Linked DNA regions of Homo sapiens: regions 2, 3, 4, 5, 6 and 7 are each linked to region 1. The links are contacts of gene promoters, found by promoter capture Hi-C in blood cells and fetal thymus (Javierre and others, 2016). All regions are on one chromosome and are shown on one strand. Each heading gives the region's core, a stretch centred on a gene start or on the middle of the fragment in contact. The rest is flanking DNA. Distances are from core to core; before and after follow the strand shown. Region 1 holds the start of GPRC5B (G protein-coupled receptor class C group 5 member B). Region 2 overlaps PDILT (protein disulfide isomerase like, testis expressed). Region 3 overlaps GDE1 (glycerophosphodiester phosphodiesterase 1). Region 4 overlaps CCP110 (centriolar coiled-coil protein 110). Region 5 overlaps CCP110 (centriolar coiled-coil protein 110). Region 6 overlaps VPS35L (VPS35 endosomal protein sorting factor like). Region 7 overlaps VPS35L (VPS35 endosomal protein sorting factor like).

Evidence for each region. Contacts are between HindIII fragments. The CHiCAGO score rates a contact against its expected background, and 5 or more counts as called.
Region 2: a contact is called between a fragment that was not itself captured here and the fragment with the promoter of GPRC5B in region 1, in 1 of 17 cell types (M2 macrophages). The highest score is 5.4, in M2 macrophages.
Region 3: a contact is called between a fragment that was not itself captured here and the fragment with the promoter of GPRC5B in region 1, in 1 of 17 cell types (total CD8 T cells). The highest score is 5.9, in total CD8 T cells.
Region 4: a contact is called between a fragment that was not itself captured here and the fragment with the promoter of GPRC5B in region 1, in 4 of 17 cell types (naive CD8 T cells, total CD4 T cells, monocytes and 1 more). The highest score is 6.8, in naive CD8 T cells.
Region 5: a contact is called between a fragment that was not itself captured here and the fragment with the promoter of GPRC5B in region 1, in 9 of 17 cell types (total CD8 T cells, naive CD8 T cells, total CD4 T cells and 6 more). The highest score is 10.6, in total CD8 T cells.
Region 6: a contact is called between a fragment that was not itself captured here and the fragment with the promoter of GPRC5B in region 1, in 16 of 17 cell types (activated CD4 T cells, total CD8 T cells, naive CD8 T cells and 13 more). The highest score is 17.6, in activated CD4 T cells.
Region 7: a contact is called between a fragment that was not itself captured here and the fragment with the promoter of GPRC5B in region 1, in 16 of 17 cell types (naive CD8 T cells, total CD4 T cells, naive CD4 T cells and 13 more). The highest score is 18.9, in naive CD8 T cells.

What each region holds. Positions count from the first base shown.
Region 1 is chr16:19,882,838-19,887,064 of GRCh38, reverse strand. It overlaps GPRC5B (G protein-coupled receptor class C group 5 member B), which reads left to right and starts at 2,217. Exons shown (of 4, transcript NM_016235.3): 1 at 2,217-2,338. RefSeq lists a silencer at 1,664-1,958 and enhancers at 3,474-4,204, 4,205-4,227. The HindIII fragment of the contact is 5,537 bases long and covers 1-4,181 here.
Region 2 is chr16:20,385,123-20,389,349 of GRCh38, reverse strand. The region is part of intron 2 of PDILT (protein disulfide isomerase like, testis expressed); the gene reads left to right. Among named protein-coding and RNA genes, the nearest start is that of PDILT, 18 kb to the left of the region's middle. RefSeq lists an enhancer at 2,294-2,827. The HindIII fragment of the contact is 7,710 bases long and covers 1-4,227 here.
Region 3 is chr16:19,508,934-19,513,160 of GRCh38, reverse strand. It overlaps GDE1 (glycerophosphodiester phosphodiesterase 1), which reads left to right. Exons shown (of 6, transcript NM_016641.4): 3 at 2,217-2,322. Among named protein-coding and RNA genes, the nearest start is that of GDE1, 11 kb to the left of the region's middle. The HindIII fragment of the contact is 2,165 bases long and covers 610-2,774 here.
Region 4 is chr16:19,527,423-19,531,649 of GRCh38, reverse strand. CCP110 (centriolar coiled-coil protein 110) reads right to left here. Exons shown (of 14, transcript NM_001323572.2): 2 at 3,628-3,783. The coding sequence starts at 3,768. Among named protein-coding and RNA genes, the nearest start is that of CCP110, 5.6 kb to the right of the region's middle. The HindIII fragment of the contact is 6,012 bases long and covers 1-4,227 here.
Region 5 is chr16:19,546,575-19,550,801 of GRCh38, reverse strand. CCP110 (centriolar coiled-coil protein 110) reads right to left here. Exons shown (of 14, transcript NM_001323572.2): 13 at 2,788-2,847. Among named protein-coding and RNA genes, the nearest start is that of VPS35L, 7.0 kb to the left of the region's middle. The HindIII fragment of the contact is 654 bases long and covers 1,741-2,394 here.
Region 6 is chr16:19,567,639-19,571,865 of GRCh38, reverse strand. It overlaps VPS35L (VPS35 endosomal protein sorting factor like), which reads right to left. Exons shown (of 31, transcript NM_020314.7): 3 at 2,275-2,442. Among named protein-coding and RNA genes, the nearest start is that of VPS35L, 14 kb to the right of the region's middle. The HindIII fragment of the contact is 840 bases long and covers 1,936-2,775 here.
Region 7 is chr16:19,586,694-19,590,920 of GRCh38, reverse strand. The region is part of intron 7 of VPS35L (VPS35 endosomal protein sorting factor like); the gene reads right to left. Among named protein-coding and RNA genes, the nearest start is that of VPS35L, 33 kb to the right of the region's middle. The HindIII fragment of the contact is 837 bases long and covers 1,307-2,143 here.

The DNA.
Region 1 (4,227 bases), core at 968-3,467:
ATGGCCTGCAGAGCCAGATGGCCTGGATTGGATTTTGTCTTTGCCAACCGTCTAACCCCGGGGCAGTACTTAACCCCTCTTGGCCTCAGTGTCTCCATCTGTAAAACAGGGAGAATAACAGTCTCTGGCCTAAAGGGTAACTGGGAGGATTAAATGAATTAAAGAATTTAAAACACTTAGAATAGCTCCTGGCACACAGAAAGCACTATGTACTCAGCTATTATTGTTATTATTATCATCCATGGGTGTTTGAACTTTTTGGAGGGAAGGAATGCACCTGCCACTCAATGTCCTCCTTCATTTTCACTCTGTGCTCCCTGTGGTATCATCACCCAAAGTGAAACTGACCATCACAGTCAGGGTCCTCTGTAAAACAAGTGGGAAAGGGAATATAACCGTAACTGCAATGTTAATCAGCTCATATTAAGGATTTTCCACATGCCAGACCCTGCGTGAAGCACTTTATATGTTAGCACGTGTTAGACCTTCACAACAACCCCAATAGGCATGTGCGATGAAAAAGATCTCCATTTTGCAGACGTTGAGGACATGTGGCTCACGAAAGTGAACTTGCCCACGTTGACAAAAGGATCTCGGCGTCAGTTCCAAGAGCTGCCACCAGGTGACAGTGCCCATCCACTTTCCAATTGCGCAGTCTGGCGGGAACACACTTTGGGTCGTCCCGCAAACATTTAATGAGCGCCTACTGTGCCTGGAACTGTTCTGGGCTCTGAGGATCCATGCAAATAAACCAGGAGTGGGGCGAAAAACTGCCATTATGGTTCTTCCTTTCCATTTTCCCTTGAATATAATAAAAGGTATCCCAGAGATGCGTGCCCAAGGGGGATGTGGCCTAACCGGACCGGAACTGGGAGGCTGGCAGGGAGGGATGGGAGTATCTGGAAGGGCCACGGTCCCCAAAGATCAGGGGCTGCCACTATTCCCAGAAGGAGGTGTTCTGCATCTCCCCTTCCTGCAGCCCCCGGGAGAGGGGAGCAGGGGTCCGTCCTATCCCTTTTGGTCTTATGTGGCTGGGATGGTTGCGGCGACGGGGGTAGAGATTGGGGGGCGCACCGCGGAGGGAGAAAGGAAATCTCACCCTGAGAATCTGGAGTGCAGGGAAGGGATGCTGCTCAAAGGTCTGTTTCTGGCTTTGGCGGGGGGCCACCTGAGACTGCCAGGGTTTGATGGTCTGAAGGTCACCCAGGGAACCAGCCCCATATGGGGTGCCGGAGCGCAGCTCCCAGGCCTGGTCGAAGCAATGCGACCTCGGAGAGGCCTGAGGACTAGGACGGGGTGAGGGGGACTCAGAGACGGCTGCCCCGGACCCCTCCTTCAAGCAGGTCCCACGGCCGCCCAGCGGACACGCGTCCGGGCTGTGCCCTGACCGTCTGCGGAGCGCACGGCCAGTGGCCCGGGCCGCTGAGTGTGTGAGCCCTGAAGGGCAGTGGACATGTGCGTACGTGGGTGATGTGTGCGGTAGGGGTGGTGGCGATCCTGCGTAGGGACCCACGTGAGGGGTGCACCGACTGGACGTGTGTGTTTCGAGGGGCCAAGGAAGCGGGTGTTGGTCCCAGTGTGCGTAAACGGACAACGACATCTGGGAGTTGGGCAGTGAGGAGAGAGAAGAGTGTGTCCAGGAGGAACCTGCCTGGAGGAGGCCTAGCGGTGTGTGTGCGCCTAGGTGTATACCGGGGCGTTGGTGACTTCGAGAGGCACCGGGCGGGATCGATCCTCTCTGCGTCCTGGACCTGGTGCTGGTGTGTTTCGGGGAAGTTACTGCTTATGAACCCCCCTTGGAGCGTGGCCTGGGGGCAGGAAGGCTTCCGCGCTGGGACCCCTGGGTCGCGATACCTCCCTCGGTAAGTGTATTGGCTAGGGGAGTGTTCCCGCAAATGGATCTACCCTGGGGAGTTGCCCGGCTCGTCTGGACTGCTTACGGGCGCACTGACGTTGTGGGGGGAATGTCCCCGAATTGGGGGCACGAGGTCGGGGGAATCGTCTCTGAGATCCGGGCTAGAAGCTACGAGCTTGGGCTCCGGGGGTGCATGCAGACGGCGCCTAGCCCCGCGCGGAACCGCCGGCGGGACCGGGGGTGGGGCTCGGAGGCCCGGGGGCGGGGCCGGCCGGGGGCGGGGGCGGGGGCGGGGCCGCGGCCGCTGCAGCAGCGCGGGCCGGGCCAGGGGGCGCCTCGCGCGGCAGCGACTCTGGCAGGCGCTGCAGTGAAGCTGGACCCGCAGGCGGGCGTGCGTGGAGCGGGGGCCGCGGCCGCGCCGCAGAGATGTGACTCGGGCCGAAGGCCAGCTGGAGCGTCGGCGCTGCGGGGCCGCGGGGGTCGGTAAGTGCGAGCTGCGCCGATGCAGTGGAGGACGCTGTGGGGACCCCAGAAACTTTTCCCGCCGTGGATTTGGGAGAATTGGGGGGTCCGCTTCTTGTGTTTTTCTAAGCGCCCCCCCAACCCAAGCCAGGGAGTTTATTGCTGGGGGAGATGTGGAATCTGGGCGAGGGGAACCACGGTGCGACGAGAGCAGAGCCGTAGAGGGGTGGGCGGGGGAGGGGAGGATCTGGGGACCTTTACGGGGGGAGGGAGACTGTGCCCGGACCAGGTAGAGATCCAAGTCTCCCAGGAGGGTGTGGGGGCGACCACAGGTGAAGGGCAGCTGGGAGGGTAAAGGAGCCCAGCCGTGTCCTAGTGACTCGTCATGTGTGAGGAGCTGCGGGCTGGTCCTGGGGCCGCGTTGGGGGCTGACTGTGGACAGGGCAGACGCAGCCGGGGGCACAAGGGCTGGACTTTGGGGGTGAACAGCCGCACCTGTCGCGGGGGCTGGGGGTCAAGCCCGCAGCCGGCTTGAGTGCGCATTACTCAGCAAGGGGAGGGGGGGACACGGCGGTGGGAGATGGCAGAGCTGAGACCTGGGCTGGGGACGAATGACGGGGAGGGGTGGGGAGGAGGGGGCGGCTGCATACAATGGCGGGGGGGGCAGTGGCGTTTCCCTTCCAGACAGGGGGCACTTGGACCTCTGGAAGAGGCGGCTAGGCTGGAGATAAGGACTAGACCTGTTCTCGGTCCCCTCTCCTTGGGGGACACAGGCTTCCAGCCCCACAAGGACCCCACACATCCCGGGGTCCCTAGCGCTTAGGCCGAAAAGGGAGCGCGCGGGAGGAGCCCGCACCCGCCTTGGCCCCGGGCAGCCGGTTGAACAGCCTGGGAAGGGGCCAACGACCTTGCCCCAGAAATCTCCCCCGTGCAGCGGGTTCACTCCTCCGTCCTTGCTCTGTCACACCCAGGCCTAGCCAGTCCTCCCTTTCCGTCCCCCGTTCGCTAAGGGGGCGGCTCCTTGGAGCGCGGACAAAGGCCCCTGGAGTGTGGCGGGCAGCGGCGTCCCCGCCTGGGGCCCCAGCCCACGCGCCACATTGGCCGCCCAACTGCACCAGGCCGGGGGGCACCTGAACAGAGCCCAGAAAGCCCTGGGGGACCCCGCAAAGACAAGAGAAGTGGGGGAGGGATCTGGCACAAAAACCCCGGCACTTCAGCCAAGGAACCTTCTTAATTCAGAAGTTTCTTCGGTGGGGACTCGGGCTTGCGGAGGATCCAGGCTTTGAGTTAAACTGCATGCAAATGACATGTAAATAGAATGCAAATTGGCATCTGTCGTTTGGAAGCCCTCCCGGCCAGTTTGGTATCTAAGACTGTGGAGTGAACAGTTTGCTATCTGCTCCCTGCTCTAAGCCTGGAAAGGGGTCAGCTGAGTTGGGAAGGGAAGGAGATTCCAGGAGGAAGGAGCCGCCATTTGGGGGCACAGGCAGCAAGACAGGCAGTTTTGTTAGAAAGATAAACTCAGAATCTTTACTGGATTAATATGTTATTTCAAGAAACGTGCCAGGGACAGAACTGGGTGCCTTGTATAAAACGGACAAAACCCCTGCTCTCCCGGGGCTGGGGAAGTGAGTGGACAAACATTAAACAAACCCATAGCAAATGGCTATGAAATCCGATTGGGGTGAGGACGGCCAGGAAAATAAGATGGGGTGATGTAAAAGAAGGTGACAGGGGTGTATGTACCTGAGATGACTGTTCCGGGAGTGACATTTGAGTGGAGCCCAGCTAGAAGAGGGGCCCTCCGCTGGGAGGTCTTGGAGGAAGACTGAACCAGGAGGAAGGCACTGTGCCTGCAAAAGCTTGGAGGTGGGAATGAGCTTAGAGGAACTGAACAAAGGCCATTGTGG
Region 2 (4,227 bases), core at 1,179-3,678, 500 kb before region 1:
AGGATCTATTAATAACCCCACTTTTTATGAATGAGGAAACTGAGTCACAGAGACTTAAAAAAATAAAAACAACTTTCCTGGGCCACAAGGAAAGTAAACCACCATAACTGCCTCTTTTTGATGAGATAGCCTAAGGAATTCACATTCATTGAGCATCTAGTATATGGCAGACAATGAGCTAGGGCCTGAGAGAAGTTGGGTCCATGGGCACCCTTGGCCTCTGCCTATCTACAGCCCACTGGGCACTGCTCAGCCTAAGTGCCAATATACACGTGAATTGTCTCCATACCTGGCCAAACTGGCATTTCCAGTTGACCAGGGCAGAATGTAAATGCTGAGACCTGAGGAGTGTATGCATTCATTTCACACCTACAAACTTGGAATTCAAGGTTCCAGAGCCCAGAAGGAAAACCAATTTGCAATTTTTTTTTTTTTTTGAGATGAAGTTTTGCTCTTGTTGCCCAGGCTGAAATACAATGGTGCAATCTTGGCTCACCGCAACCTCCACCTCCCAGGTTCCAGCGATTCTCCTGCCTCAGCCTCCCAAGTAGCTGGGATTACAGGCGTGTGCCACCACGCCAGGCTAATTTTGTATTTTTTGTAGAGACGGGGTTTCTCCATGTTGGTCAGGCTGGTCTCAAACTCCTGACCTCAGGTGGTCTGCCCACCTTGGCTTCCCAAAGTGCTGGGATTACAGGCGTGGAGTCACCACGCCTGGCCCAATTTACAAAATTTTTAAAGAAAGAAGCCAGAAAATCGGACTCTAAATTTTAAAGAGTGGCGTTGGCTGTGTAGGTTGTCTCTGCTCTGATGGGAACCACCTGGAACAGAAGAAATGAAAAACATGCCCCCATTAATCTGCTCCAAGAAAAAGATTTTTCAGACCAGCTGGCCAATTTGGTCATTTAGAGCATGAACCTTGGAGCCAGTCAGCCTTCGAGTTGACTCTCAGCCTAACTGCATACTAGCTGTAAGACCTCTGGGTTTCCATTTCCTTATCTGTGATATTCCTGCTTGTAATCACAGATAACTCACAGGATTGTTCTGAAGATTAACCAGGGTAATGCATGGAACACTAAGCAAGTACTTAGCACAGTAAGGGATCAATACGTGTTGTTATTATTACTATTCTCATTATCAACATCGCCATCAATATCATCATCATTATGGCGATGATAGTGACATCATCATCATCTTTCCATAGAAGATCCTACATAATCCTATGTCACTCAGATAAAAACCTCAGAGACACCCTTGACTCTTCTCTTTCACCATGTTCCATATCCAAACTCCTCCTCCCAAATCTCTCTAGAATGGAATCACTTCTCAGCCCCTCCATTACCACTCTCCTGGCCCAAAGCCATCACCATCTCTTGCCTGGATTACTGTAGTAGCCTCCGACTGGTCTACCTGCATCCTTTCTCTTTCCCTTTTTGTCTAATCTCCATATAATATTCAGAGAAATCCAGTTAAAAAGTAGCTCAGATCACCACCTAAGGACAGGAGTTCAAGACCAGCCTGGCCAGCATGGTAAAACCCCATCTCTACTAAAAATACAAATATTAGCAGGGCCTGGTGGTGCATGCCTGTAATCCCAGCTACTCAGGAGGCCAAGGCAGGAGAATCACTTGAACCCGGGAGGTGGAGGTTGCAGTAAGCCAAGATGGTGCCACTGTACTCCAACCTGGGTGACAGAACAAGATCCGTCTAAAAAAAAAAGAAAAAAGAAAAAAGAAAAGAAAAAGAGTAACTCAGATCACCTCCACCTCTGCTCCAAACCCTCTGGTACCATTCCATATTCTGGGAAAAGTCAAAGTCTATTCAGTGGCTTGCGAGACCCTACATCACCTGTCCCCTGGCCCCAGCTCACTCTGCTCCAGACCCAATGGACTTCTTGTCATACCTTGAACATGTCACACATGCCCCACCTCAGGGCCTTTGCATACACTGGCCCTTTACCAGGAATTCTCTCCTGCTAGATGTCTACATGGCTTGCGCTCTCATTTCTTTCCATCTTTATTAAAACATTGCCATCTTTAGCCTCCTACTTAAACTTGCAATTTCCCTAATACTCCCAACCTCCAACTCTCCTGTTCTTTTCCAAAGCACATATTATCTAACACAGCACATATTTTACTTTGTTATTCTGCTTATTTTCTGCCTTTTCAAGTGACAGCAGGGGTTTTTATCTGTTCACTGTTATATCCCCAATCCCTAGGACAGTGCCTGGCACATGGCATATCCTAAAAGTTTCATTGTATGAATGAATAAATGAATGAATGCATAAAACGAATGAATGAATCTCCATTACTATTATCATAGGCCCCATCAATCTAGCTCTCAGACCCCAGCACTCCGGTTGCCACAAGCTCTCTCTGTCACTTCCATTTCAGACACCCAGGGGCACTGGGTTGTGTGTGGAACCTCTAAAATTTGCTTTACCATCTGGACAATCATTCCAAGTGTTTCTCTTGCCCTGAGCTTCCGCCCTCAGAAACTCAGATTCGGATTCTATGTCAATCAGCAATCCTGAGCCCAGCATGGCCACATCCACGAGGAAGCCGGGGAGAGCCCCATGGACCAGAGCAGCCAGCAATTGGCCAGTGCATGCTGGTGATGATGGATAGGGGATATCAGGGGATATCGAAGGCGATGACGGTGACAAAGCAGGCAGTGGAGGGGCATCGATCCAGGAGGGAGGCACAAAGTCCCCGCTTCCGGTCCATTGACCGGGAGTTTAATGAAAGCGATCATTCACTTTCCGATCCCATTGCAGGAGCAGGCGTGCTGACCAGCAACGGGGCCCTCGCCAGCTGTCCCGGGGCCCTGCTTTCTGAGCGGCACTTTACAAAAGACCTCTCTGTTGGACTTGGAACTTGCCCTCTGCAGCAGAGGTCATTTGCACTTTCTCCAAGTGCTCCAGATGGACCACGGGGGTGGGCGGCAGTGAAAAAGATAAAATGTTCTGGCTTGAAAGGCAATCAATGACCCCCTGCCCTGGCTCAGCCCCCCTTCCTCAGTCATGGGGTAGCGAGGAACCTGCAGCCTCACAATGTTATCAGGAGGAAGAAAGGCACACTTGGGCGCCTTTTAGTCCCCTCCGTTTAGCCAGAAAAGCCTCTTGCACTGCCAAGGTCACGTGCCAGCTCCCTGATACCGCTTCCAGAAAAGGGCTTCCCCAGTCCCTCCCCACTGCCCAGCAACGTGAGGGGCCAAGGCGTCCAGATCAGATCTCTTAATGGAGAGTTCCAGGTCTCTTCGAGACAAGAGGGTGGACTCAGGGGAACACCACAACCTCCCCTATCCCCGCCCTCCCCACACCTGGTTTTCCTTACCTGCGAAAGTCCCCTGTCCAATTACATGCAGGGCAACTGCAGGGGCTCAATTTGGCCTGTTAGCTCCAGGACGTTCCACCAGATGGCGCTCATGAGCTCTCATGCTTCCTCTCTGTCTCCATAATTTCTGACCACAGAATTTTTTTAAAACAAAAAATTTTAATAGTTTGGAAAATTTCCCTCTAGACTTCTTTTGCCCTGGGCATACACTTTTTAACAATTCCATAAATGTGATCATCGTGTCTATGCTATTGAGTGGTTTGTTTTTGTTTATTTCAATAGCTTTGGGGGTACAAGTGGCTTTTGGTTACAGGGATGAATTGTGTAGAGGTGAGGTCTGAGATTTTAGTGCACCCATCACCTTAGTCATGTTCTTTCTACCCAATATGCAGTTTTTTTTGATCCCTCACCCTGCACCCAGCCTCCCCGCATCTGAGTCTCCAATGTCCATTATACCACTCTGCATGCCTTTGTGTAATCATTGCTTGGGTCCTGCTTTGACCACAGAAATTTTACTATAATAATGGAAGCAGTAATAAGAACGCAGCATGTACTTAACTTGTGCCAGGCATTATACCAAGTGGTTTACATGCCTAGTGGAGATTAGAAAAGAACTCTACAGCCAGACAGAATGGGCTCTTATCCTGGCCTTACCTCTCACTGTCACAGGGCTTTGCGCAAGTAAGTCATTTGTTGTGCTTCAGCTTCCTCATGTATAAAATTGAGATAATAATAATACCTATCCCACAGAGTTATAGAGAGGAGTAAATGGCTTAATGCACGTAAAACTCTTAGAAAACAATAAGCAATTATAGCTGGTTGTGACATAAATCTCATTTAACTCTGACGATTCCTTGAAGTAACCACTATTATTTTCACCCACTTTACACAA
Region 3 (4,227 bases), core at 443-2,942, 370 kb after region 1:
AAATATCAAAGACATTCTTCAGAGAAATAGAAAAGCAACAATCCTAAAATTCATATGGAACCGTAAAGAAGCCCAAATAGCTAAAGCAATACTGAACAAAAAGGACAAAGCTGGACATATCACACTACCTCATTTCAAGATATACTACAAAGCCACAGTAACCAAAACAGCATGGTATTGGTATAAATACTGACACACACACACACACACACACACACACACACACACACACAAAACAGATACATAGACCAGTGGAATACAATAGAGAACCAAGAAATAAATCCATATATTTACAGCCAACTGATTTTCCATGAAGGCACCAAGAACATTACAGTGGGGGAAAGGAACTCTCTTCAATAACTGGTACTGGGTAAACTGGATATCCATATGCAGGATAATGAAACTAGACCCCTATCTCTCACTATATTTAAAAAATCAACACAAAATGGATTAAAAGTTTAAATTTAAGACCAGAAACTATAAAACTACTAGAAGAAAACACAGGGGAAAAGCTCTGGGACATTGATCTAGGCAAAGATTTTATGGCTAAGACCTCAAAAGCACAGGCAACAAAAACAGGCAAATGTGACTATATTAAACTAAAAAGCTTCTGCACAGCAAAGGAAATAATCAACAGAGTAAAAAGAAAACCTGTTGAATAGGAGAAAATATTTGCAAACTATTCAACAGACAAGTAACTAATATCCAGAATATACAAGGAACTTAACAGCAAAAACAATAATAATCCCATTAAAAACATCTATTCAAATCCTAATTTGAATAAACATTTTTCAAAAGAGGACACACAAATGGCCAACAGGCATATGAAAAAACACCACAAATTATTAGGGAAATGCAAATCAAAACCACAATGAAGTACCATCTTATCTAGTTAGAATGGCCATTATTTAAAAGATTTTTAAAATAACAGATGCTGGCGAGGATACAGAGCAAAAGGAACTCTTATATTCTGTTGGTGGGAATGTAAATTAGTACAGCCATTATGGAAAACAGTATGGAGGTTTCTCAAAAAACTAAAAATATAGAACTACCATACAATCCAGTAATCCCACTAGTTGGTATCTATCCAAAAGAAAGGAAACTAGTGTATCAAAGGCATACTTGCACCCCCATGTTTATTGCAACACTATTCACAATAGCCAAGATACAGAATCAACCTAAGTGTTCATCAGTGGATGAATGGATAAACTGTGGTAAATATACTCAATGGAATACTATGTAGTTAGCCATAAAAAAGGATGATATCCTGTCATTTACAGCAACATGGATGGAACTGAAGGTATTATGTTAAATGAAATAAGATAAGCCAGGCACAGAAAGGCAAATATTACATGTTGTCACTCATATATGGGAGCTAAAAAAGTTGATCTCATGGAGGTAGAGAGGAGAATGATAGTTACCAGAGGCTGGGAAGGGTTTGGGGTTGGGGGAAGAGGAGAATAAGGAGAATTTGGTTAATGAGTACAAACATACAGTTCGATAGAAGGTATAAATTCTAGTGTTCAATAACATAGTAAAGTGATTATAGTTAACAATCTGTTGTATATTTCAAAATAGCTAGGAGATTTAGATGTTCCTAACACAAAGAAATGATAAATATTTGGGGTGATGGACATCCTAAATACCCTGATTTTATCATTATACATTATGCGCATATCACAAAAATATGTCTAAGTGTATAGCAATAAAAATGTGGAAAAAAGAATATCTATAATTTGGTTCAAATTATTACAGTAGGACAGGCGCAGTGGCTCACACCTGTAATCCTAGCACTTTGGGAGGCCAAGGCAGGTAGATCACTTGAGGTCAGGAGTTCAAGACCAGCCTGGCCACCATGGTGAAACCCCGCCTCTACTAAAAACACAAAAAATTAGCCAGGCGTGGTGTCACACGCCTGTAGTCCTAGCTACTTGGGAGGCTGGGGCGGGAGAATTGCTTGAACCTGGGAGTTGGTAGTTCCAGTGAGCTGAGATTGCACCACTGCACTCCAGGCTGGGCAACAGAGCAAGACTCCGTCTCAAAAAAAAAAAAAAAAATCTTAAAGTAAAGTATCTTTGGACTTTGCTATGGTCGAAAAAAGGAAGTTGGAGAAAACACTCTTTCCTTTTGATTGAGAGACATATGCAAAATGTTTGTTGCAATACAGTTTATCTGTTTCTCTTTTTTCCTACAACGTATTTTCTCTTCTCTTACAGGAATGATTTCCCTGATGAAAAGATCCCTACCCTAAGGGAAGCTGTTGCAGAGTGCCTAAACCATAACCTCACAATCTTCTTTGATGTCAAAGGCCATGCACACAAGGTACAGTTTAAATTGTGGACTTCACTTTGTTAAAAAGACATCTTATTTCATTGACGGTCATTTCCGAAGTTACATATATTTTGTTATTTATTCTTTTTAAAACTTATTTTTATAAATTGTATTTGTTTAATGGAAGTGTACAATGCAGGAATCTATATCATTTAAGGAAACAGTGCATTATGGAACTTTTTAACCTTTTATGGAAACTTTACAAAACCAGCATAAAATGGAAGAGTCAAGTTTCTATTATTTACATAAAGCATTTACAAAAGATATTAAGTAAACAGTAAAAAAGACATTTCTAGAAAAAAACCACTGTAGTAACCTTGAGTTACTTGAAAAAAAGGAATTCCGAAGTTGTACACAAGACCAATTTTATCTAGCTTAAAAGTTAAGGGCCTTATATGGACAACTATGGACTGCATTTAAAGAGAATTCCTATATTAAAAGCTTCTAATAGTTAACAGAACATATACCTTTTACATAGATTTATCCCTTTGTATAATTTATATCCCTTATGTATAGTTTTTTATTCATTGATTTTAGCAGTTATACTTTTATCAGAAAATCATTTATTTTCTTCAAATGTATTTGACATTCCTAGATAAAATTTTGCTTAAATTTTAGGGCCTGCACTTACACTCATAAGAACATATTATTACAGTGAAAATCAGTGGGAAGATATGATTCTGATTACATTTGTTCTCTTATAACCAGCTTTTCAAGTGCAAGTACTTTTTTCCCCATTTGGGCAACTTGAGTATTTTTCCCCTAGCAATATTAATAATCGGTAAGGGCCATCTACTGGTTGAGAATTCTGATGATGCCAATTTTTTTTTTTAATTAATCCCATGATATCATTGAAACCAGTTGTTAAAACCCAAAATGGGCCGGGTGCAGTGGCTCACACCTGTAATCCCAGCACTTTGGGAGTGGATCACCTGAGGTCAGGAGTTCGAGACCAGCCTGGCCAACATGGTGAAACCCCTGTCTCCACTAAAAATACAAAAATTAGCTGGACTTGGTGGCGGGCACCTGTAATCCCAGCTACTCGGGAGGCTGAGGCAGGAGAATCGCTTGAACCGGGGAGACAGAGGTTGCACTGAGCCGAGATTGCGCCAGTAGTACTCCAGCCTGGGTGACAGAGCGAGACTCCGTCTCAAAAAAAAAAAAAAAACCTGAAATGTGGAGCCTAAGTATACACTCTAATTTTATTAACAGTTAATTCCTATTTTTGAAGAAGGAAGATAATGGTAACTAATTTATTATTCTAGTAAACCGATAGTTGTATACGTCTAGGTTTTCCAATTGGTCTGCGTTAGAATCACCTGTACCTATTTTAAAATATAAATTCCTGGGCCATTCTCCCTAGGGAAGAGATTCTGAAAATGTCTAGGGTGGGCTCAAGGAACATGTATTTTTAATGAGCACCTCAGGTGCTCATTGTTGATGTTGCAGCCCACATTTGGGAACCCTGATAGGTCCTACATTTCACCCATGGTATACTGACTTTTATGCTTATTCTCTTAGATTTTTTGAGACAGAGTCTCACTCTGTCACCTAGGCTGGAGTGCATTGGCGCGATCTCGGCTCAATGCAACCTCTGCCTCCGGGGTTCAAGCAATTCTCCTGCCTCAGCCTCCCAAGCAGCTGAGATTAGAGGCATGTGCCATCACACCCGGCTAATTTTTGTATATTTAGTAGAGATGGGGTTTTGCCATGTTGGCCAGGCTGGTCTCAAACTCCTGGCCTCGAGTGATCCGCCCACCTTGGCCTCCCAAAGTGCTGGGATTACAGGTGTGAGCCACCACGCCTGGCTTCTCTTAGAATACTTTTTAAAAAGAAGTAGACATTTAAAAAAGAAAATCTAGCTATTTGAGTCTTCTGAATGGGTGCTCATGGGTG
Region 4 (4,227 bases), core at 905-3,404, 360 kb after region 1:
TCTACAACTTTTAATTTTCTAACCAGTGCACAATTTAACTCTTTGCTGCCTCAAAAAATGTCCAAAGGTTTAATGATAAAATAAACAGATAATATATTATTTGCCTACAAAAGCAGAATACATCTTTTCTTTCACCTCACTCTACCTTCTGATAAAAATATAATGTACCTAAAAAATGGAAGGCTTCTAAGCATTGTATCTCTTTATAATGGATTTCAATCTTAATTATTAAGTCCTGGGAAATTAAATCACTGTTAACAGTCAAGACTTATCGTAGACTTACACAAATAGAAAATATATCATTAAAAAATTATTTCAAAAGTTGCAATATTCACCTATCAAATACAACATAAAAGTGTGGATTAGGTCCATAAACATCACATTTTGCTTATAAATAAATAACAGACGGAGTCATAGACCCTACACAACAAGCCTCAGACATTTTGGTCCACATTAAATCAAGCAATGTGTTATCAAATAGCTGATAAATATGTTGTTTTAAAACTTTTTCCTAATTGCATGGTACCAAAGAATGATTATACAATTTACTTGCTAATCAAAAGGAGAAAATGTGTACTTTAAAGAGCCATCTGGCAGTCACTACTGTAAGCAAGTGTTCAAACTAAACATCACTAATAGAGGGCAACTAAACATTATGTAACTTCTGATTTAATTTAGTATGAAGTGCAGGGCATCATCTCCAAAGAATTCCTTTTTTTTTTGAGATGGAGTCTCAGGTTGGAGTACAGTGGTGCGATCCCGATCCCTCCTGGGTTCAAGCGATTCTCCTGCCTCGGCCTAACGCACAGCTGGGATTACAGGCACCCACCATCATGCCTAGCTAATTTTTATATTTTTAGTAGACAAGGGGTTTCGCCATGTTGGCCAGGCTGGTCTCGAACTCCTGACCTCAAGTGATACACCCATCTCGGGCTCCCAAAGTGCTGGGATTACATTTTTTTTTTTTGAGAGAGGGTCTCACTCTGTTGCCCAGGCTGTTGTGCAGTGGCTCGATCTCGGCTCACTACCTTTGCCTACTGGGTTCAGTGGATCTTGGCTCACTGCAACCTTCGCCTCCTGGGTTCAAGGGATCCTCCTGCCTCAGCCTCCCACATAGCTGGGATTACAGGCATCCACCACCACGCCCAGCTAATTTTTGTATTTTTAGTAGAGACGGGGTTTCGTCATGTTGGCCAGGCTGGTCTCAGCCTCCCAAAGTGCTGGGATTACAGGCATGAGCCACCCCGCCCAGCCCTATCTTCAAAGAATTCCAAAAATCTTTAACCTGTTTATCAAACTTCACTTCCAGTTCATAGGAACTACAGGGACTAGAGAAACAAGTTAAATAACACTATTAGGAAACAATGGGACAAATCCAAGATCTAAGGAATTCTACAAGACAATAGCTCTGGTCTCTTTAAAAATTCAGTATCATAGTTTTGTTATTTTTTTAAAGACAGTATCTCACTCTGTCACCCAGGTTGGAGTGCAGTGGCATGATCAGGGTTCACCGCAGCCTCAGCCTCCCGGGCTCAGGTGATCCTCCCACCTCAGCCTCTAGAGCAGCTGAGACTCCTGGTGCGCGCCACCACACCCAGCTCTTTTTTGTATTTTTTGTAGGGATGAGATTTCACCACGTTGCCCTGACTGGTCTCAAACTCTGGGGATCAAGCAATGCAATCCACCCACCTCAGCCTCCCAAAGTGCTGGGATTATAGGCGTGAGGCACCATGCTCAACCAATAAAAAAAACTGTTTTTAAGACGTACAGTAGCTATTTTAGATTAAAATAAAGAAACATAACAAGCAAATACTAATTGTGAACTTTGGATCCAGATTGGGGGAATAAAGTTATAAAAGGCATTTTGAGCACAAATGGAAAAATTTAAATATGAACAGAATTATTAGATATTATTAAAAATTATTAGTTTTCTTAAGATGTGATAATGGTATTGGGGCTTTACATAGGAGAATGTCCTTATTTTTAAGAGATGTACACCAAAATATTTAGGGGAGCAGTGTCAGGTCTCCGTGGTTTTCAAATAGCTAGGCAATTTTTAAAAATGTCATATGTACACACACACATAGATGTATATAAAAATCACAAACACAATAAAGCAAAGATGACAACAATGTTAAAAATTATTTAATCTAATGGTAAATCTATGGGTGGTCACTGCACTATCCTTTCAACTTTGCTGTATGTTTGAAAGTTTCATTACAAAAAGTTGGCAGTTAGCTCTGGTGTCTTTAAAAATTCAATTCAATTAATTAAAATTAATCTCTTAACTCCTGTTATACCAAAAAATAAATTTAAAGCTCACTTTTTTCTAATATTAGTTTGTGATTTAAAATAAAGTCATATGCATTTTTAAAATATCCAATTAGTATCAAAGGGTGTATGATGAAGTGTCTTCCCTATTATCCTATATTCTCTCACCACTCCCCAGAAAAGGAATAGCCATCCTTTGAAAAACCCAAATGGTTAACTTATATTGGGTACCTCTTATGATCCAGGTGGTATTCTAACCATTTTATATCTACGAATTCATTTAATCTTCAAAATAGCCTTATGAGGTAGGCACTATTTTATCCCCATTTAACAAATAAGAAAATGGACCACAAGTTTACACAGCAAGTAAGTAGCAAAGCAATGATTTGGACCCAGGCCAGAAGGCTCCACAGCCTAGACTTTTTTTTTCCTTCTTTTGGGATAGGGTCTTGCTCTGTTAGCCCAGGCTGGAGTTTTTTTCCTTCTTTTGGGATAGGGTCTTTCTCTGTAGTCCAGGCAATGATGCAATCCTGACTCACTGCAGCCTGCAACTCCTAGGTTCAAGCGATCCTTCCGCCTTAGCCTTTGAAGAGCTGGGACTACAGGCACATGTCACTGCGCCAGGCTAATTTTTTAACATGTTTTTATAGAGATGAGGTCTCACTATGTTGACCAGGCTAGTCTTGAATTCCTGGTCTCAAGCAATCCTCTTCCTTCCGGTCTCTCAAAGCATTGGGACTATAGGTGTGAGCCACTGTGCCTGGCCCAGAGTCTGGACCTCTAATCATGACTCTATACTGCCCCTGACAGCATGCTGCACACGGTGTTTTACACTAGATCATTGAGATCCTTCCATGCCTCAACATTTACATCTGCCTTACTGTAATGGTATGTATGAGAGTTTATAAAATAGACCATAGTTAAACTACTCCACTACTGATGGACATTTAGGTGGTTCGTCAACCTTTGCTATTTTAAACAATGCTAATGTAACTTTGTACTTATTTCTTTGGGCTCACATATAATTGTAGGATATACCCAAAAATGGAACTGCTGACCCAAAGGCTATGTATGCTTTTAAATTCTACCAAACTGCTCATCTAGAAATAAAATAAACTGATTCTCTTAGCAAAAGTGCATTAAAAGTGCATTTTCTCCACAATCTAAGGAACACAAAGTTCTATTAGGTCTTGGCCAATCTATAATAGTAAGTAAAAAATGCTAATTCATTTGTATTTCTCTAATTCTGAATGAGGGCATCTCTTCAAATGTTTATAAGCCTTTCTTTTGTTTTTCCACGAACTGTTTTAGTTGTTCACTACAGAAAAAAACTATTTAAAAACAAAGCAAGTTTACCAGTGGAGAAAGGATAGCCACTCCATGAAAGCGAATAAGTGAGATACTTTCAGACTGAGCAGGGAGAAAGCTCTCTGTGGATAGTGATGCTTCTTGTATTCTGGCAAGACTTTTTTCACAGAACTTCTCATACTCCTCCATCTTCCCACAGTCACACTACAAGAGAGAAAAATGTTATTTTTAATGTACTGGGAAAAACAGATCTTAATTATTTGGCAGATTTTGTAGAGCATGAGAGAGTCCCTATAATTCACAATTCCTATAACTGGTCCTCCCAGAATTGTCTTACTGATCAGGAGCTAATTCTTGGGTATGGTAATTCACCTCAAGAACCTGTCCAATTAAGATTTACTTTATATATTAAATATTTCTGAATATTATTGCATGTAAATCAATCTTTAAATGGGATTAATTTAGCTAAGAATTCAGTAAAACCTTCTTAAAGGAAACAAAGTTCTGTAAATCTTTACTAACTTCACATTGTAAAACAGGATATTATATTTTCTTTAACAGGACTTATCTACACAAGAAAAACTATATCATACAAAGGTACAAACACTGTAGTAAAAAAGCCTACTTAAATCAAAGAATATTTACTTT
Region 5 (4,227 bases), core at 818-3,317, 340 kb after region 1:
TTACGATAACATCAGAGATTGCAATTTAGGTTTGTAAAACTATAAATAACTAAATGCTTTGCAGCATACTTTAACATTTTAGAATTCTACTTCAGTCTAAGAGTATGATATTCTATCATAAGAAAAGTTAGTTTTCTATAAATTGCTTAACAAAGGATTTGCCTCCATTTAGAGCAAATCAGAACATAATTTCAAATTTGTTTAAAACATAATTCAGACCATTAAAACTCTAAGCAGGAAAGAGTAATCTTTTCAAGAGCGACAGTGAGTTCCTGTGTTCAGATTCATAGTTAGCATTTTAACCAGCCAATATCCCAAACTCTCAGTTTATATAAAAGAATACAATTCTGGCTGGACGCGGTGGCTTACACCTGTAATCCCAGAGCTCTGGGAAGCCGAGGTGGGCGGATCACCTGAGGTCAGGCGTTCGAGACTAGCCTGGCCAATATGGTAAAACCCCATCTCTACTAAAAATACAATAAATTAGCTGGGCATGGTGGCACGCGCCTGTAATTCCAGCTACTTGGGAGGCTCAGGCAGAAGAATGGCTTGAACCCAGGAGGTGGAGATTGCAGTGAGCCAAGATCACACCAATGCACTCCAGCCTGGGCAACAGAACAAGACTCTGTCTCAAAAAAAAAAAAAGAACACAATTATTTAGTTTCTTTCAATTGTCTAAATATGCACTCATGTATAAGTAAATCTTTAGAAAACAACAGCAACAGACTTTTGTACTTGTTTAGATACATATTAATTCAAGGGTTAAGTTCATTTGTATTAATAAGTATGTTGCAATGCAATTTAACCTCAATAGTTCAAAATAATGAACTTCATTGTATGTTACTAACTTCAGTGACTGACTATACATCCTTTATACTGTTGAGTATTGCTGAATAAAAACAGTACTTGCTATTTTGCTTATAAGTTCACAAGTGACAAATAGTGGAGATGAAATGCATGAGAAAAGAACATGGAGAGTAGTCACTGTGGCAAATTGGTATCAGGCAAAACAATACTAATTCCTCAATGATTTTCCAACTTGCTAAGTTTCAGTGCAATATAGAATACTAACATGAGAAAAACAGAAAATGTCTTAAAATTCCACAGGTTTGGTGTTTGGTCTGAGTCCTTTCAAATGGTTATCTTTCAAACTAGCTTATTCTGACTGCCTCTGGAGTAAACAGTATCTTCAGCTATGTAATCCTTTAAGACAATTCCATTAACTGTCACTCACAATGATTTCCAAAGATGATCTTTTAAATTATCCTATATATGTGTGACACTATGAATTACCTTCACTACATACATACAAAAGGTCAGCCATCATTTCAAAGTTACGACCAATAGCTTGTTCCCTCCTAATTTGAAGGAAATCACTTAGTAATAAAGCTCTAAAATTTGCCTAATTGTATATTAATGGAAAGATTAAAATTGATTAAAGGTTTAATCTTCAATGCCTGGTGATTAATTTAGGTTTGTTGTAAATGTCTAGAAAGCAGTATAGTTAAAGCACAACATTTGGAAAGTATTTTTAAATGGATCACATAATTTTTAAGTGAGCTTAATCAAAGTGTCTTAACAAAGATACCTAAAAAATATTAAAGCATTTGGTTAAGAGCTTTGAATTTGCTCAAGAATGAGTTTGTCTTCTTGCCACCATAAACAGAATTTTAAAATACAGTTTTTAGTTTAGCTCTTAATCCTCAAATAATGAACATAAGGAGAGATTTAGCTCAAGCTTTGGACTGAGCAAAATATGAAGCCCTCCTCCCACTGGCATATTCACATGTGATCTTATAGTCTGAGGGAGAAAGTTTATCCCCTTATGTGCAGATACACTTCCCCAAGCTGAACAGACAATGCACAGACTTAGCACCAGAGATGATCGTTATCTTTTATTCATTAAATAAAAAGGTTTTCTGAATTAAGCATGGCAAATTCTACAATTTTTTCAGAATGAAAAATACAAGGTGCTTTCCACAGAAATATTATAGAAATGAAGACTGGAATCACACTTTTACTAAGACTTCCTGACTGCCATACAATGCTAAGACCAAAGAACACTAATAAGATGACTGTGAATATGCCAAAATTATGGTGGCAAGGAAAGACAATCTATTCCACTTCTATGGCCTGAGTTATGGGGCAGCTTGTGCACTTCCTTCTATTGAATGGGCTTCAGGAATTTATTTTCTACAAACCTGAAACAGGCACTCTGTTAGGCACTCTGCTCTGTGAAGGCTTCTGTCTATTTTGCACAACCCCCTTCACTGATGTCTTAGGGGTTCTAATTGAATATAAAAAAATTAATAAGTCACTGGCATTAAGGTCTAAATGTTCAAAATTCAAAGAAAGCAATCACATTGCATCAACTGTCCAAAGCACAAATAAGCTTGAAAAGAACTGAAGTCTCATGCATGCGCACAGTAAGGAAAGCTAAACTCTGGCTTCAGCAGGAGACTATAAGCACGAGTCATACTCTGTTGGAGAATCACTTCGGTGATGCTGAATTTACTATATGGATATTTAAAATACTTTATGAGTAAAATGGTATGAAATGAAAAGTAAAAACATCCCAACTTAAGACAGTAATTAGAATACACAACAGTACACCAAGAGGGTTACATTTGAAGACAAAACTTTAAAATATCTTTCCCAATGCTATAAAGAAAAAAAATCCCATTGAAAAACCATTATCCTTTACATAAAGAACACTAGATTTATTTTTCCCTCTCAAATCTAATCTTGGTTTCCGTAGTTTTCAATACCCGTGTGTGGCATTCTTACCCTTGTCTACTAAGTAGCCTATGAACAGGTGCATTCTGTCCTTGGTTTGGCTGAAGGACTCTGTTGACAAATTAAATGAAAAATTAATTTAATAGGTTAAATTCCATTTTTTCCCATTTTCTTTCAACGGATGAAAGATGATGACTGTAAGGTAAAGGTCAACTATGCAATAATATGGCCTATATATTACCACAAATCAGAGCAAATCGACTAAAGCATATTAATATGATACTTGTATTTTGCTCACTAAGAGTCCAAACCTTAGGTTTTTATCAGCAAAGAAATGTCCAACATATAGACTAACCCTTGTGCTTTTAGATAATTTTCTTATACATATGCTTTACAAAAGCTAACTTTTCCCTTCAAACCAGTGAGAGAAGAAAGTATCACTCTCATTTTACAGGAGTAAAAAACAGGTCAGAAATATTAAAGTTCGCTTTTTAGCTTTATTTTTTATTTATTTATTTTTTTGAGATGGGTCTTACTATGTTACCCATACTGGTTTGAATTTCTGGGCTTAAGCTATCCTCCTGCCTCAGCCTCCCGAGTACCTGGGACCATAGGAGCATGCCACTGTGCCCAGCTTAAGTTAGCTTTTTTTTGAGACGGACCCTTGCTCTGTCGCCCAGGATGGAGTACAGTGGTGCAGTCTCGGCTCACTGCAACCTCCGCCTCCCAGGTTCAAACAATTCTCCTGCCTCAGCCTCCTGAGTAGCTGAGCAGGCACGCGCCATCATACCCGGCTTTTTGTATCTTTTATTTTTGTATTTTTAATAGAGACAGGATTTCACCATCTTGGCCAGGCTGGTCTTGAACTCCTGACCTCGTGATCCACCCACCTCACCCTCCCAGACTGCTAGGATAACAAGCATGAGCCACTGCTCCCAGCCCAGCTTAAATTAGCTTTCTAAGGTTTTTAAATAAGTATCAAAGATCCTCTGGACTGTCTAACTGAACTCAAGACATACCACGCTCAAAATTTCTACCACAGATAGCATGTCCTACAAAAGGTCCGGGCACATCTGGTCTGACATGTGACTAGGTATATGGCCAGGTATTGGTATGAATCTTGAGCCTGAGGACGACCCCCGACCCAATTCAGCAAGAAGTGCTCTACTGATGTCAAGTAGAACAAAGTCAACAAAAATGAAGTTTGGGATTTAAATTTTAATTTTTTAACTTTTTTTTTTTTTTTTTTTGAGATAGAGTTTCACTCTTGTTGCCCAGGCTGGAGTGCAATGGAGCAATCTTGGCTCACTGCAACCTCTGCCTCCCGGGTTCAAGCGATTCTCCTGCCTCAGCCTCTTGAGTAGCTGGGATTACAGGCATGTGCCACCACACCCAGCTAATTTTGTATTTTTAGTAGAGATGGGGTTTTCCATGTTGGTCAGGCTGGTCTCAAACTCCCGACCTCAGGTGATCCATCCGTCTTGGCCTCCC
Region 6 (4,227 bases), core at 1,106-3,605, 320 kb after region 1:
GTTAAAAAAAAAAAAAAAGTTGGCTGGGCGGCATGGCTCAAACTTGTAATCCCAGCACTTTGGGAGGCCAATGTGGGCAGATCACCTGAGGTTAGGAGTTCGAGACCAGCCTGGCCAATGTGACGAAACCTTGTCTCTACAAAAAATACAAAAATTAGCCAGGTGTGGTGGCACATGCCTGTAATCCCAGCTACTAGGTAGGCTGAGGCAGGAGAATCACTTGAACCCAGGAGACAGAGGTCACAGTGAGCCAAGATCGCGCCACTGCACTCCAGCCTGGGCAACAGAATGAGACTCCGTCTCAAAAAAATAAAATAAAATAAAATAAAATAAATTAAAAAAAAAAGTTGTGGGGTGCAGTGGCTCAGGCCTGTAATCCCAGCAACTCTGGTAGGCCAAGGCAGGAGGATTGCTTGTGCCCAGGAGTTTGAGACCAGCTTTGGCAACACAGTGAGACCCCAACTCTACCAAAAAATCCAAAATTAGCTGAGTGCGGTGGCACACACCTGAAGTCCCAGCTGCTCGAGAGGCTGAGGCAGGGGGATTGTTCGAGCCCAGGACTTTAAGGCTGCAGCGAGCTATGATCATGCCACTGCAGTCCAGCCTAGGCAAAAGAGCAAGACTATCTCCAAAAAAACAAGTCACAAAACAGCAGTTCCATTTATGTAACAATGGTAAATAATATATGAAACACAGGCCGGGCACAGTGGCTTACGCCTGTAATTGCAGCACTTTGGGAGGCCGAGGTGGGTGGATCACGAGGTCAGGCGTTCGAGACCAGCCTGGCCAATATAGTGAAACCCCGTCTCTACTAAAATACAAAAATTAGCTGGGCATGGTGGCACGTGCCTGTAGTCCCAGCCACTCGGAAGGCTGAGGCAGGAGAATCGCTTGAACCTGGGAGGTGGAGGCTGCGAGTCGAGATCACCCCACTTCACACCGGCCCGGGTGACAGTGTGAGACTTCATCTCAAAAATATATATATATATATATATATATATATATATATATATATATATATATATATATATGAAACACAGCATAGGATGATGATCGAGAGCATGTATTCTGAAGTCAGACTGGCCAGGTTTGAATCCCAGCTTGGATGTGACTTGTTATCTCTATCCCTCCATGGCTGCCTCTTTAATGAGGATTCCAATACCTCTCACAAGGTAGTAAGAGAACCAAATACAAAACGCACTCCGGAAAAATGCCTGCCATGCAGTAAGTTGATGCTGTAATTATTTATATATGAGTACGTATGGGAATGCTCAGAAACTGCTATCGCAAGTATCTATGAAAATACAGGGGAAAAGCTATGGAAGAAGACACATTACAGCCATCATTCTCACAACCGCCAGGGTGGAGATTGGAATGAGGATTGCTCTACATGACTTTATCTGTAGTGTCTGACTTTTTCACATCAAAATGAGTGATTTACTTATGTATTATGTAAAAAGATTTATAAGAAGAATAAAATTAAAATTAAAAATAAATTTTAAGAGCCAGGTGCAGTGGCTCACGCCTGTAATCCCAGTGCTTTGGGAGGTTGAGGCAGGTGGATCACTTGAGGTCAAGAGTTCAAGACCAGCCTGGTCAACATGATGAAAGCCCATCTCTACCAAAAAACACAAAAATTAGCTGGGCATGGTGGTGCATGCCTGTCCCAGCAATTTGGCAGGCTGAGGTGAGAGAATTGCTTGAACCCGGAGTCGGAGGCTGCAGTGAGATTGCACCACTGCACTCCAGTTTGGGTGACACAGCAAGGCTGTCTGAAAAAAATATTAAATTAAAAAATAAAAATAAATTTTAAAATGCTTTCAAACAAAAAAACAAAAAGACTTCACAGAGCTACACCAGCCTCTCATGTCAGGATGACCTGACCAGAAGGTACCGTGTGCATTACTTGTGCAACTTAAAAAAGGGGAAGAAGCTTTAGGAGGCTCAGGTGGGAGGATCGCTTGAGGCTTGGAGTACAAGACCACCCTGGGCAACACAGCAAGACCCCACCTCTACAACAAAATAAAAAATTAACCCGGCACAGTAGTGTGTACCTATAATCCCAGCTATTCAGGAGGGTGAGGTGGGAGAATTGCTTGAGCCCCGGAGTTGGAGGCTGCAGTGAGCCATGACCACACCACTGCACTCCAGCCTGGGTGACAGAGTGAGACTCTGTCTCTCAGGGGAAAAAAAAGGGCAGGGCACAAGAAAACCACCCATTCCTGCACCCACAAAACCAACCCCCACTGGACGACCATGGCTGGGGTGCATTACCATGGCAGCTGCCAAGGCTGCGGGGTCAGCAGTGGCTGCAAACATGGAGAGGGGGTCAGTCCCATCGAGGACGCTGCTCAGCGGGTCCACCACGGAGCTGGAGGAGGAGGAGGACGTGGAAGAAGTGCTTCCTTTCCGGTTCACTTTCTTTGTCTTTGACTCTGTGACCTGTGAGGAAAATTTCTGGAGGTAAAACGGAACTCCCACAACTCTCTCCAGTGAAACACTCCAGTGGGTACTTTCCTCCCATTCTGGTAGTTGAATGGATGGTTCATTTGCAGCAGAGACTTAACCATCTGCAGGGGATGCTTAGTTTTTGTGACAAATGGACATGACTCAGGATCACAACTGTCAAGGAAGGGAAAGTAGGAAGTTAGGGTTAGGAAGTGTTAAAAAAATTAATTGAGAGGTCACTGGACTGAGATGGCTACAGCACCTGGGGTTCCCTATGTAGCAAACCAAAATCCAACTCAATATAAGTAGCAAAATGGAACTTAAGCTTAATCAGTTGCAAATCGCCAACTACCCACTAACTAGAGACTACCAATCAAAACCAACAACTAACATCTAAGTAGGGAATTTCTACTTTAACCAGGTACTTTTTTTTTGCCTTTCTCCCTTGAACACCTCATAAAAGTTAAGTTTTCTACTGGGTGCAGTGGCTCATGCCTGTATCCCAACACTTTGTGGTGCTGAGGCAGAAGGATCACTTGAAGCCAGGAGTTTGAGACCAGCCTGGGCAACATGGTGAAGTCCTATCTCTACAAAAGATATGAAAATAATCCAGGTGTGGTGGTACATGCCTGTGGTCCCAGCTACTCAGAAGGCTGAAGTGGGAGGATGGCTGGAGCCCAGGAGGTGGAGGTTGCAGTGAGCCGAGATCGCACCACTGCACTCCAAGCTGTTAAATTTATGTGGTCTCTGCCCCCAGTTCCTCCCACAGAGCTCCTAATACCCTAGGAGATTTCCTGGGTGATAGGAGCATCTTTTGTCCTAATAAGGTGACTCCCGATGGGCTCCTGCAGAGCTTCAGGATGGGGTCTGGTCACCAGAAAGACCAAGCCATGATTAGAAGATTGGAGCTTTCAGCCCCATTCCCCATCCTTCGGGAAGGTGAGAGGGCTGGAGACCGAATGAATAATCAATCATGCCTATGCAACGATGCCTCAAAAAAAAAAAAACATGAAAAATGGGGTTTTGGGAGGCAGAGGTTGCAGTGAGCTGAGAATGTGCCATTGCACTCCAGCTGGGCGATACAGTGAGACCCTGTCTCAAAAAAAAAAAAGGGGGGGGCGGTTTGAAGAGCTTCCAGGTAGGTGAACAAGAACACATCGAGGTACCTGGAGGGGACATGAAAGCTCTGTGTGCCCCTTCCCCTGGGCCTCACCCTACGTAGCTCTTCATCTGGCTGTTCATCTGTATTCTTTGTAATATCCTTAATAATAAACTGTTAAGTACAAGTAAATACTAAATAATAAACTGGTAAGTATAAGTAAATGTTTCCCTAGTTCTGTGAGCCACTATAGCAAATTATTGAACATGAGGGAGGGAGGCATGGGAACTCCCAATGTGTAGCGAAGTTGGAGTTTCTGAAGTGAAGATGTCTTTTTTTTTTTTTTTTGGAGACAGGGTCTCGCTTTGTCACTAAGCCTGGAGTGCAATGGTGTGATCACGGTTCACTGTACCCTCGACATCCTGGGCACAAGCAATCTTCCTGCCTCCGTCTCCTGAGTAGCTGGGACTACAAGCACACCATCACACTTTGCTAATTGTTTTTTTACTTTTTGTAGAAGTGGGGTATCACTATGTTGCCAAGGCTGTTCTCGAACTCCTGGGCCCAAGGGATCTTCTCATCTAGCATCCCAAAGTGCTGGGAGTACAGGCATGAGCTACCATACTGGGCCAGGGCTGTCTCACTGAGGACCTTGCCCTCAAACCTGTCGAGTCAGATGC
Region 7 (4,227 bases), core at 476-2,975, 300 kb after region 1:
TGCATTGGTGCAATCATAGCTTACTGCAGCAATGAACTCCTGGGCTCAAGCAATCCTCCTGCCTCAGCCTCCCGAGTAGCTGGGACTACAGGTATGTACCACCATGGTTGGCTAATTTTTTTTCTTTAATTTTATGTAGAGGCAGGTTCTCACTATGTTGCTCAGGCTGGTCTTGAACTCCTGACCTCAAGCAATCCTCCCACCTCAGCCTCCCAAAGTGCTGGAAATACAGGTATGAGCCACTGCACCCGGCCAACATGTTCAGAACTCTTTTTTTGAGTACTCGTCTGCTATTTAGCGTTCAGGACTTTTAATGGAAGACCGCAGTCACACAATGTGGCCCCAAACACCTTTGATTATCTTTTATCATCAGAAACAGAAAAGCTCTTTCTACTTTGAAGAACTAAATTTAATGCCATGCCCTGAAGACTTTACAAATTCAAAAGTCAGCATAAGGAATTAAATAACTGCCACACTTCATCACCTCAATGGTTGACCCTCAGAAAGAAAAATGTCATTTAAAAATTAAAAAAAAGATGTTCAGACATTTAGAAAGGATTATTTAATATGCAATTCCAATATGCAGAGAATGGTGAGAACGTTCACCATGTCAAGAGATAGGTTGACATGTGTTTTCAGTTTGGTGTTGTTACCCAACATCTAAATTGTTAGAGTCACCAAGTTTCTCCATAGCATTACAGGCCTAAAAGTAAACAACGTGTCTGATTTGCGAAACATCCCCTTACAGCCCAAATGTTATTTGTGGGGGGGGGGGGGGGGGCGGGGCGGGAATGTAAGCTGTAAAAACAATAGTGCTGACACCAAACGTGGCAACTGGATGTATGTGGAATTCCATTTCCTGACACCTCGCTCTGCGATTTTCATATGCCCTTTGTGAGAGTTCCAACTTAAACAGCTGCCCCCATGAGATTTCAAGGCTGGAAAAAGCTAACAACTCCAAATCTCAGAGACTGTTTACAATACACAGTTCTCGGTTCCTAGGGATGTGACATCTCTGAGTTCTACCCAGAGCTGGGCTTGGACAGTCTCTCAGAGATGAGTTACTGCCCACTGGTGAGGTGAGAGAGAGAGAATTTAAACAGAGGATTTCAAATTAAACACAGCTGGGGCTTCCCAAACATCTGTGCATTGATTTTCTCCCAAGCTGGTTTCATAGAACATATATTTTATAAAGGACAACAGGAATAAGATTTTGTTTTTAATCCAAAGTTAAAGCTATAATGATCTTATAAATTGAAGTTACTTTTTAAATTACTGTTTTGAAGATGCCACAGTTTTTAAAGCTTTGGTGCCGCTTCCTAAACTTGTCTGATAAGAATCAGGTAACCCAGGTATGTGTTAACAATACAAATCCCAGCTGGGCATGGTGGCTCATGCCTGTAATCCCAGCACTTTGGGAGGCTGAGGCAGGAAGATCGCCTGGGCCCAGGAGTTTAAGACCAGCTTGGGCAATGTAGTGAGACCCCAGTTTCTACAAAAAATACAAAAATTATCCAGGCATGGTGGTGTGTGCCTGTAGCCCTAACTACTCAGGAGGCTGAGGTGGGAGAATCACTTGAGCGAGGGAAGCAGAAGTTGCAGTGAGCCGAGACCGCCCCACTGCACTCCAGTCTGGAAGACAGAGCAAGAATCTGTCTCAGAAAAAAGGTTAAAAAAATTTGAATAGCCACAACAAATGCATACATTCAAAGATGACCTGAGTAGGAAGGAAAGAAGTAGACCATTACTATCCAGAATACATCTTAAAAATTGCAAAACTCAGTACGAAAAACACAGATAACAAAATGGAAAAATGGGCAAAAGAAATCAGCAAAGGTCATTTTACAGAAAAGGAAACCCCAAAGGCCTATAAATATGTGAAAAGATGCTCATTTTTATTAGTAATCGAGGAACTGCAAATTAAAACCACAAGAAAATATGACTGGAAAAATTAAAATAGAAAATCTGCTCATACCAAATGGTGGTAGAATGTTGAATAGCACAGACTCTCACACGCCCACATACTACTACAAGCGTATGCTGGCACAGCTACTATGGAAAATAACTTAGCATTATCTGGAAAAGCTGAAGAGGCACAGAGCAGTTCTACTCTTAGGTATAGGCTCTTATCTAGAGAAAAGCTTTACATGGGCACCAGCAGACGTGACCAAACGTGCTCACAGTGACATTGTCCATGTAGTGAAAAAAGAACAGAGCCAGATGCTCATCAACAGATGGCAAAATTTATGCATCAGAAAATGATTTCATACTCAATGCAATACCTGTCAGAATCCCAGAAGGTTTTTTTTATTTTGTAAAAATTGACAAGCTGATCCTAAAATTCATACAGAAATGCAAAGGGCCCAGAACAGTGAAAATAATTTAAAAAAAGAAGAAGAAAAAAAAAGTTAAAAGACTTACACCACCCAGGCCAGGCGTGGTGGCTCATGCCTTAATCCCAGCACTTTGCGGGGGGCAAGGTGGGTGGATCACCTGAGGTCAGGAGTTTGAATTGAGACCAGCCTGGCCAACACGGTGAAACCCCATCTCTACTAAAAATACAAAAATCAGCCGGGCATGGTGGCAGATGCCCGTAATCCAAGCTACTCGGGAGGCTGAGGTGGGAGAATCGCTTGAATCTGGGAGGTGAAGGTTTCAGTGAGCCGAGCCAAGATGATGCCACTGCACTCCAGCCTGGACAACAGAGCAAGACTCTGTCTCAATAAATAAATACATACATACATACATACATACATACATACTTATATTACCCAGTTTCAAACTTGCTATAATGCCATAGTAATCAAAACAATGTGGAACTGGCCAGGCGCAGTGGCTCATGCCTTTAATCCCAGCACTTTGGGAGGCCGAGGTGGGTGGATCACTCGAGGTCAGGAGTTCGAGACCACCCTGGCCAACATGGTGAAACCCCACCTCTACTAAAAATACAAAAATTAGCTAGGTGTGGTGGTGCACACCTATAATCCCAGCTACTGGGGAGGCTGAGGTATGAAAATCGCTTGAACCTGAGAGGCAGAGGTTGCAGTGAGCAGAGATCACGCCACTGCACTCCAGCCTTGGTGACAGAGCAAGACTGTGTCTCAAAAAAAAAAAAAAAAAAAAGACAATGTGGAACTGGCATAAGGATTGACTTATGGATCAACAGAATGACAGTGAGAGTCCAGAAATAAACTCTTACATTTATGGTCGATTGATTTTTGTTTTTTTGTTTTTTAAGTAGTCTGAATTTGCCACCAGTGGTCAATTAATTTTTTTTTTTTTTTTTGAGACGGAGTTTCACTCTTGTTGCCCAGGCTGGAGTGCAATGGCACGATCTTGGCTCACCGCAACCTCCGCCTCCTGGGTTCAAGTGATTCTCCTGCCTCAACCTTGAGTATCAAGTAGCTGGGATTTCAGGCATGCACCACCACACACAGCTAATTCTGTATTTTTAGTAGAGACAGGGTTTCTCCATGTTGGTCAGGCTGGTCTTAAACTCCCGACCTCAGCTGATCCGCCCACCTCAGCCTCCCAAAGTGCTGGGATTACAGGCATGAGCCACCACGCCCAGCCTTGGTCAATTGATTTTTAACAAAAGTGCCAAGATCTCAGTAGAGAAAAACATAGTTAACATGGTTTGGCTCTGTGTTCCCACCCAAATCTCATGTCGAATTGTAATCCCCAGTGTTGGAGGAAAGGGCTGGTGGGAGGTAACTGAACCATGAGGGCAGACTTCCCCCTTGCTGTTCCTGTCAGACAGTTCTCATGAGATCTGGTTGTCTGAAAACCTGTGTCACCTCCCTGTTCTCTCTCTCTCTCTCTCTTTCTCTCTCCTGCTCTGCTATGGAAAGATGTACCTGCTTCCCCTTTGCCTTCTGCCACGATTTTAAGTTTCCTGAGGACTCCGCAGCCATGCTTCCTATACAGCCTGCAGAACTGTGAGTCAATTACACCTCTTTTCTTCATAAATTACCCAGTCTCAGGTAGTTCTTTATAGCAATGCAAGAATGGACTAATACAATAGTCTTTTCAACAAACGTTGCTGAGACAACTGTAGCTCCACATGCAAAAAAATTATTTAGATCCTTACCTTATAGGATATATAAAAAGTAATTCAAAATGAACCATTGACCTAAATGTAAGTGCTAAAATTATAACACTTCTAGAAGAAAACAAAAAAATCTTCATGACCTTGAGCTAGGCAAAGAGTTCTTAGATACAACTACA